2 separate regions of the Homo sapiens genome follow, and region 1 is linked to region 2. The links are contacts of gene promoters, found by promoter capture Hi-C in blood cells and fetal thymus (Javierre and others, 2016). All regions are on one chromosome and are shown on one strand. The core of a region is centred on a gene start or on the middle of the fragment in contact, and the rest is flanking DNA. Distances in the headings are between cores, read along the strand shown.

Region 1 (3,280 bases), core at 773-3,272, 130 kb after region 2:
AGCACCTCACCTTGTCCTGATGGCCTGGGGTGCGGAGAGATGCTGGCCCCAGCCAAGTCCCACCCAGTCCCCGGGCCCCCGGTGTGTCCTTCCAAGGCTATGAGAGCTTCAGCTGGAGGGGAGCTCCCAGGTGGCAAGAAGGAGGAGGGGGTGGGCAGGGGGCTTGGTGGGGGATGTCACTTGTACCTCATTAGCATCAAAGGTGAAAAGGGGACAAGGGTGACTGGGGTGCCGGCCAGGATGGGCGAGAATGTTCAGGAAAGGACTGAGCTGGCATTTGCATTGTTCCCAGAGTGAGCAGTGGGGGCCCCCCAGGGCTTGGTACATCTATAGCCCTGGGGCTTCAGGAGCCAGAAGGGCCCCTCCCCAGGTCTCTGCTTCCCCAAGATGGATTCCCAGTGAGAAGAAGAAGGGAGGCTGCCCTAGAAGGCCAGTCTGGGGCCAGGCTTGCTTTTAGGAACTCATGCCTCCCTTTGGGGGTGGGGGACCCGTCATCTCTCTACCTCCTGGCGACCCCGTCCCCTCATCGGCATCCATGCGATACGTCACCTGCCACTGACATCACAGGTTTGGGCTGCATCGGGCACTGGACCTCTACCAGCCCCAAAGACCCCGGCTCTGCACCTGCCATGCCTCTTGCCTGGCCTTTGCCTCCTGAGCCTTGGACTTCCAGGGAGGTGGGTGAGCTGGGCCTGCCCCTTCACGCCACGGCTTCTGACTGTCCCAGCCACTGTCCCCCCGACCAGCTGTCTTAAGTTGGTCCAGCCTTACCAGGATGGTGCCCCGCCAGAGCCCACTGCTGACAATGACCATGGCTGTGCCAGTATTTGTAAAGCCCTCGGTGGGCCCTGCTGCCCTGTCCTTCAGCCAGGAAGTGGCAGAGCTGGGACCTGAACTCAGGTCTGACCACATGGTCTGCAGCTGTAGGGCAGAGGAGCAGGCCCGGGCCAAGACTAGGATAGGTACTCCGGGGACTTGATTCAGTTGGGGAAGACCAGACAGTAGCTGCAGGTTGGGGCCTGGAGAAATTCCCCACAGGCTGAGCATCCAGGACCTTCTGGCTGACCACTGCCTGCCTTGGTCACCCTGATCCTGTTCTTTAAACATCTCCTCTCCCTGTGCAGAACAGCAGCGGGGAAGGTGAGGGCCCCAGGCAATGTCAGCCCCACCCACTTCTATCACAAAGGGGTACTTGTGCACCAAGCTGGCGGCCTCCACAGCTGAGACCCTCAGACTGTGGCCAGAGGCAGCCCCTCCTCACATCCCACGGTCTGAAACACTCAGCCAGCAGAGACTCCGGGGGAGGGTGTCAGGCACGAGCCCATGGGCACTGGAGGGGCTTGCAGGACCACTGCTCCGTCATCAGGCCAGACCCTTCCTGTTGGGGGATGGATGCTACGGAGGAGGCAGAGCCCTGGGCTGGAAGGGTCCAGAATCGTGCCCAGGCCCACGGCAGGAAGGCCCCCCCGCCCGGGACTGACCTGTGTGGAAGAAGCCGGCAGCAGCCAGCAGCTCGGGTGGCACCTCAGCAGTCAGCGGCCAGTCATAGAAGGAGGCCAGACGCAACTCCTCAGAGCCCATGCCGGGGAAGGCAGGCCCCCTGGACAAGGTGGCCCCGGCGCCCTCCTCCTCTTCCTCCTCTGTCAGGGGCCGCAGCTGGCCCAGGATCTGCCCATCCACGTGGTCCCAGGCTCTGCAGGTGTCCAGGCCTAGGACAGGGCTGCCCAGAGAGCGGGGTCCACAGCGCTCCTGCGTGGGACCATCACCGGCTGCCCAGTGGCTCGGCTGTGGTCCACGGTGCAGGCACTTGGCACTGTCTTTAGGTCCCATGGAGGGAACACTGGCTCTGACCAGGTTTGCAGCAGAAATGGGGGCTGATGGCCAATCTCAGAATATGCCCAGCTGGCCCTTCTGGAGCTCCTGACCCCCGGGGCCCACCCTGGGGACAGCAGGGATAGGCACAGGCCTGCCACCAGACACCCTGGGAGGGGAGTATCCCAGGGCCCACAGCTTTCTGGAAGTGGCCAGGGTGGCCTCTGGGGTCACATGCTCTGTGCAGCGGGGGCGTGTCACGGGGCCCCTGGCAGGGTTGCGGATGCCGCTGACTGCACGTGGGCAGGCCACGTCTCTCTGAACAAGACGGGAAGGAACTGAGCATGGAGACCCCTCCCCAGGCTGGTGTCTGCCCCAGGGCTGTGGGGGAGGGGTTGGGGAGCTGGAGATGATGGCTCCAAGGTCAGGCGCCCAGGGCAGCCTCCGGAAGCAGAGAAGGCTCAAGGAAGGACATGTGAGCTGTGCTGCCTGTGCAGGCAGGGGCCGTGACCTCCCACCTTGCGGGGGTGACTCTAGCCTCACAGGGGCCTAGGGCTGCGTCACGCAGAGCAGGGAGGCAGGTCACCCGGCTGTTCTCTGAAACATCCCTCTGCCCCAAGGGGCCTCTGCAGGTCTGGGAGCAGCTCTTGTCCTCAGGCCAGGAAGATCAGAGCAAAAAGAAGGGCCCGAGCTGCCCTCACCTCCCGCTCCCCCTTCCCCCATCTCCCTCCACCTCCCTCCATACCAGCCTCCCCAGGTAGCCAAGGGAGAGGCTCTGATGCCCCCAAAAGAGGAGTACTCAGTGTTGGCACTGGAATCGGAGTTCCTGAGGTCTGCTGTGACCCTGGCTGCCGGTCCAAGCTCCACACTGTGCCACACTGCCAAACCCCACAGTGAGGGAACAGGGAGGAGGACTTAACCCCAGAGAAGCCAGGGGCAGAACAGGAACCCCAGGGACACCTGGGCGGGACAAAAAGGACAGCTGGATGGGGCCCAGACTTCGACACCCCCCAACCCCCGACTGAGCCCTCAACCCCAGCAAACCCAGCTCATCCACCCGGCTGGCCCTAAAAGCCCCCTGTCATCCTTCAGCCACTCTCCCCTGCTGTTCCGTCCTGGATGGGAGCGTGCAGGCTCACAGAGTTTGGAAGAATAAAGAGGAGTCGCACGCTGCAGGGCCGCTGGTTGCCACGGGGAGCGCAGGTGGGCAGGAGAGGGTTAGCTGCAGTGAAAACCGTCCCTGAGCTCACCTGGAAGCCTGGCCCGTTCTCTTCCCACTGCTGAGCCGCATAGACCCAGCTGCTGCCCACCACACTTTCACACCTGCCCCCCGACCCCCACTCACGGCGGGGGCTGGGGCTGCACCCGCCCTCCCAGGAGGCCTCTGGTGACTGTTCTGGTCATACTCAGGCCAGTGTTGCCAGGCCCCAGCGAGACCCCCAACCCTTTCCTATGCAAGGCCCAGAGC
Region 2 (5,539 bases), core at 1,252-3,751:
CACGCACGGCTGAGTGGACACCCGTGGCCCTTCAGGGATTCACCCAGCTCACCACACGCCCCCCGCTCTGCTGTGACCCCAGATAATCTCCACAGGAGGCCTCGATTTTAACAAGTCCAGGGGGAAACCATGAGCCCAAGTGCAGGAGCAGGGGTGTCCTCTTCCCAAAGAGGTCTTTGGTTTGCCACGGGAGGGTGAGGCACCCACGAGGGTGTGGAACCCACGAGTGGACATCACTTTATCAGCAGAAGAGCCCCGTTTCGGCCAGCTGCCAAGTCAGAGAAACGATAACCCCGTGTCACAGGGGCTCCAGCAGGGACCGCAGCACGGCTGGCCTCTCCACTCACAAAAGAATGTGGATTTGGCTCTGCCAATGGCATTTGCTCTGCGACACCACAGGCAGGGGCTTCTCACCAAGGTGGGGCCTGAACCAAAGGGCAGAGGCCAGTCTATACCATGCGGGAACCGCTGGCCTTGCCACCTCTCTGTCCCCTTCCTAAGCAGAGAGCCTCATGGGCTGTGCCGCAGGGAGCGGGGGTGGGGTTCTGTGAGTGGGTCAGAGGTCAGAGGTCAGCAGGCTGCCCTCACGGGGCCTCGGGGGACTTTGCTCTTCTCCCCTCCCTGTGTTTACCAGCTGCTTGCTCAGCCCAAATATCCATCCAGCTTGGAACCTTCTAGTTCCTGGCACAGAACTGGCCCATGGAGGGGCTTCATGTAGGCCAGAAGGACCAGGGTCTTGCACTGCCCAGGGGCTTGGGAAGAGCAAGGAGAGGAGGAGGAGGAGAGGGAATCCTTCCTTGGGGGACTTCAGTCTGCCTAGGGAAACAGGCCCTTGAAACCATCGAGGGTTGGATCTGCAGGGTGGTCTGAGGGAGAGCCGTCAGCAGGGTGGGTGGCAGACACCCATGGCTCCAGGAAAGAGTTCAGGAAAGTAGACCTGGGATCTCCCAGGAGGCTGTCCCAGTGAGGGCACGTCAGCCCAAAACTACATCTGAGGCCAGCAGGAGGCCGGGGTGCAGACCCTAAAGCCAGATGGCCTGGGTTGGAATCCCAGTACTGACTGTGAGCTTCGGCAAGTCGCTCGGCCTCTCCGCACCTGTGTTATCTCTTTGGTAACGTAGGGACAATTGAAGAGGCCACCTCAAGGGGGCCGTGGAAGTGCAGGGGGTCCCTGCATCCAGCTTGCTTGGACCAGCATGTGGGAAGGCCACAGAAGCAGGGCAGGTGTTGTCGCTGGACCAGGCAATTCAGGAGGGCAGTGTCGTCGTTGGACCAGCCACTGTGCAGCGGCTGTGTGTTCTGAAAGCTCTAATTGTAGGCACTGCCCACAGAGCGGACAGACAGCTCTGGCCAGTGAGGAAGAGCTCCTGCCCGTCCCAAAGCAGGTGTATGAGGAGCCATGAGCTCAACCTGGAACCAGAGGTGGGCAGGGAGGGGGGAGAGGGGTGGGCAGGAGCAGTGGCTGCTCAGGGAAGCTGGGGGGAGGAGGAGAAGGAAGGTAGGGGGTAGGGACAGGGGAGATGGGAGAGCGATGGGAGGGGCAGGAGCTGTAGGGCTCCAGAGGCCTGTGCTGGAGAGGGGGTTGCTGCAGGGAACTCCTGACGGAGCCCCCTCGCCCGACCAGCAGCCTTGCAGCCTTGGAGGGAGGGGCGTGAATGCGGAGGGTCACCGGACCTCTCCAGCCCCTTCTGCTCTGCCTTCCATTACCGACGACGGAAATCTCCGTTTTCGGGGGCTGTGTCCCAGCTGCAGAGCCTGAGGCTGGGCCAGGGGCGCGGCTACAGGGATGGCCGGGTCTGATGTTTCTGCAGAGCCTCGCCCTCTCCTCCTGCACACGAGATTCAGCCGCACAAGGCGCCCCTCCTCCAACGCACCTGCTGCTCTGTGGGCGGCCACCTCGGCACCCACCTGAGGGCGGGGCCCCTCCCTGGGGACCGTGCGCCTGGGCTCCCCTCTGGACGCCTCTTGGGTCTCTGCGGAGGTACCAGGGAAGGCGGGGGCTGCAGGCGGACAGAGAGTCCTGAACGGCTCGCTGGGGAACAAGACCAGAGACGCGATTTTCAGGCTGCAGACACCGGCTGGCGCGATGGAGTAACCCAGATGTGCTAGGGGTGCCCCTCCTTGCGCCGGATCCCCTAGATGTGCCCCCCACCCCTGCAGGCAGGGAGCGGGCGCCCAGGCTGGAGATGTGGGGAGGGAGGTCAGACTGACTCCGGGACCCCCCAGTCGCACTCAGTGACCCCGGGGTCCCCGTCCCCGGCTCAGGCACGTCTCGAACCCCAGGAGAACAAGGAAACTTTACCCCCGCCCGGGGCCCAGCGCAGCCTCCCCGTCCCCCTGGGCGCGCGGTCCATCCCTGCTCATTCTCCCTGGCCCTTGCTCCCTCCTCCCTTTTCACTCTCCGTTCCCTCCCCCTCCCCTGCTCCCCCTCCTCCCCCCTCCCCTGCTCCCCCTCCCAGCCGGCTGAGGCGGGCAGGGCCGGGCGGGGCCGCGCCACGGAGCCCACAGCCCGGCGCTCCCTGCCGCGCCGCCGCCGCACCGCGCCCCACAGGAGAAGACGAACCGGGCCCGGCGGCCGAAGCGGCCCGCGAGGCGCGGGAGGCATGAAGTTGGGCGCGCACGGGCCTCGAAGCGGCGGGGAGCCGGGAGCCGCCCGCATCTAGAGCCCGCGAGGTGCGTGCGCCATGGAGCTAGGGGGCCCCGGAGCGCCGCGGCTGCTGCCGCCGCTGCTGCTGCTTCTGGGGACCGGCCTCCTGCGCGGTAAGTTACGGGGCGCGGGATGGGCCCCCTTTCGCCCGCGTTCGGATGGCCTGGGACCCCCAGAGCCAGAGGGAGGCAGGCTCCTGACTGCGGTCCCAAGCCGCGGGTGCGCGCGACTGGGCGACCGCGAGGCTCCCCATCCCCAGCCGCACAGGCTGCGCTCGCACCCGGGCTGAGCCAGGCGAGGAGGGAGTTGACCGCCGGCGAATGCGGAGGGCTGGGAAAGGGGCTTTCCGCGGGGTGTGGGGGGTTCCGCTGCTATTTCAGGGCTGGCCCCAAAAGCTCGAACTTGAGCAGAGGTGGGGCCACCTTCGCCCTTCCCCCATCCATCCAGCTAAATTTCCCTGAAGACCCCCATGCCTGCTTCCTCCGGTTTAGGGGATCAGAGGGGTGGCCTCTGCCCTTGGCGGCCGCCACCCACCTTTTCTGCAGGAAGGACAAGGTCGCGGGTGGGGACTCTGGGCTGGGAGTCAAGGCTCCCAGGGGTGTAGAACTGACCCCTCCCCCTCCCCGAGTCCTGTCTGCGCTCTCAGGCCAGCGGGACCCACCAGGGAGGTGGAGGTCTCCCCCTCCGCCCAGACCCGCCCCTTATGGCAGCGCCCAGGACAGGCGGGGAATGCCTCAGATCCTGGGGCCCCGGACCTGGAGCACAGATGGACCTAGGGCTGTGCTCCTCCAGAGCGACTCATCAGGGGCGTTCTGGGTCTGCCCAACAGCACGGGCAGGCTGGGGTGCGGAGGGGGCTGGCACCTCGTTGGGGTCTGCATCTGAAACACTCCTCGGGCATCAGGGGATTGATGAACCAGGGGAGGTTCCGTAGGAAGCGGGCGCTTGTGGGGGCCCGATCCTCCTTCCCCTTCCTCCCTCTTCCTGCCTGGGCTGGCCCCGCTGCCCTGTACTCCCTCCTTTGCTGCTGTTACCCCCGAGTGTCCTCTGACTCGCCAGCTGCTAGAGACACAGCCCTTCCCTGGAAGTCAGTGTGACAGGAGACCCAAAGCAGTCCTCGGCCCATCCGCCGCCTGGTTTTGTGGTGCGGTCAAGGTGCTGGGAAGGCCTCCGTGGGCTGAGGGGCCTGGGAAGCTTCCCCGAGGAAATCACAATTACACCCAGGGGTGGGAGAGAGCCGGAGGCCAAGAGAGGTCAGCGCACGCCACGCCCGGCACACACACACACACACACACACACACACACAGCACACGCCCGGCACACACACACACACAGAGCGCACGCCCGGCACACACACAGGTCCTGGGGTGGGAAGGGCTCATGTGAGGAGCTGAAAGGAAGTGGACGTGCTGGGCAGGGGGCTGGGGCAGCCTGGAGAGCTCCTGGACAGCTCCCGGCTCCTGTCCCGCCTGCACCTGAGCCACTGGCCTGCCTCTCCCCGCAGCCAGCAGCCATGTGGAGACCCGGGCCCACGCCGAGGAGCGGCTCCTGAAGAAACTCTTCTCCGGTTACAACAAGTGGTCCCGACCCGTGGCCAACATCTCGGACGTGGTCCTCGTCCGCTTCGGCCTGTCCATCGCTCAGCTCATTGACGTGGTAGGTGAGGGCGTGGCCATCGTGCACTGTGACTGAGGTCGCCCTGCAAGGAGCACAGGGGTCTGGGTGGGCAGAGGGGACACAGCCATCAACACTCCCCGTGGCTGTGAGTGTCCGGCCCGGGCTGGTACGTCAGAACGACAGCCACCAGCTCTGCCCCGCCTGAGCCCCAGCCAAGGGTTGATTCAGAGCGTCCCAGCCAGGCCCTGCCCTTTCCTCCCCCTTGACGTGGGAACACTCCAAGTGGCCAGGTTCTCAGTACAGAGCCCAGGCACCTTCGGAAGCAAAGAACAGCAAAGGCCTTGCTTGGGGGTGGCGGGGCACGCTGTGACCTCGGAGCAACAGGGACAACCGGCCGGGGCAGGGGCCGGGGCAGGAGCAGGCACTGTGGTGTCCCGGCAGCACCCCAACCTTAGCTGGCCCCAGAGGCCCCTCACCCACAGATCTGGAATGTGGGGTTTGGGGGAGTCTTGGGCGAAGTCTGTTTGTCTGAAGATATGTTCTTTCTGGTGGGGGGCCCAAGAAGGCTGCTGGGAGGAAGCCTACTGGTCCAGCCAGGCCCCTGCAGCGTGGGCCAGTGCACATGGAGCCCCAAGGCAGGATAGGAACCAGGAGGCTTCGAGGCTGAGAGAACTGAGCTGCGGGAGGCTCGGCCTTGTGCTCGGTTGAGATGCTTGGTTACCTACCCAGGCCTGAGCCAGACTGTCTGGGGGTCTCGGCGGCCCTGGAGGGGCCGGGTAAGGGGCAGCAGAGACATTTCCACGTTTCCCAGCCAGGCTCAGCCACTCCAAATGGGGTGAGACCATCCCTCAGGGTACCTGGCTGGGTGGGGGTGCATAGCCTGGGGGCTGCCACCATGGAGGAGGGCAGGTTGGGCAGGCCATGGTCTCTGGGAGCTGGCCCACTTGCGAGTGGGCAGCCAATGGCCAGCTGAGCTGCAGGGGCTCGTCTTCCACACTGAAGTCCGCCAGCTCCAGCCCTGCTGCCAAATCCCAGCTCGCTGGTCCAGGGAGGGCACCCCCACATGGGGAGGCATTTGTATGCTGTAGAGGCCCAGCCCACACCTTGCCAGGATGCCAAGCCTGGGTCTGCCGCTGAGGGAGGAGCCACCGGGTTGCGGGAGAATTTCCTCTCTTTGGGAGGCTGGTGCCGTGCGTGTTGGGTAACCCTGGGCCTGGGGCCTGTGAAACGGGGTGAGAGCTGCTTCACTATCCCAGGCTGAGTGGGCCACACCCCA

Evidence for each region. Contacts are between HindIII fragments. The CHiCAGO score rates a contact against its expected background, and 5 or more counts as called.
Region 1: a contact is called between the fragment with the promoter of BIRC7 here and the fragment with the promoter of CHRNA4 in region 2, in 1 of 17 cell types (endothelial precursors). The highest score is 5.1, in endothelial precursors.

Annotation. Positions count from the first base shown.
Region 1 is chr20:63,234,647-63,237,926 of GRCh38, reverse strand. BIRC7 (baculoviral IAP repeat containing 7) reads right to left here and starts at 2,022. Exons shown (of 7, transcript NM_139317.3): 1 at 1,482-2,022; 2 at 1-24. The coding sequence starts at 1,830. RefSeq lists enhancers at 2,138-2,257, 2,605-3,206. The HindIII fragment of the contact is 21,330 bases long and covers 1-3,280 here.
Region 2 is chr20:63,358,311-63,363,849 of GRCh38, reverse strand. CHRNA4 (cholinergic receptor nicotinic alpha 4 subunit) reads left to right here and starts at 2,501. Exons shown (of 6, transcript NM_000744.7): 1 at 2,501-2,760; 2 at 4,151-4,302. The coding sequence starts at 2,685. LOC100130587 (a long non-coding RNA gene) reads right to left here and starts at 3,862. Exons shown (of 5, transcript NR_110634.1): 1 at 3,681-3,862; 2 at 1,909-2,032. RefSeq lists an enhancer at 1,760-2,393. The HindIII fragment of the contact is 20,478 bases long and covers 1-3,842 here.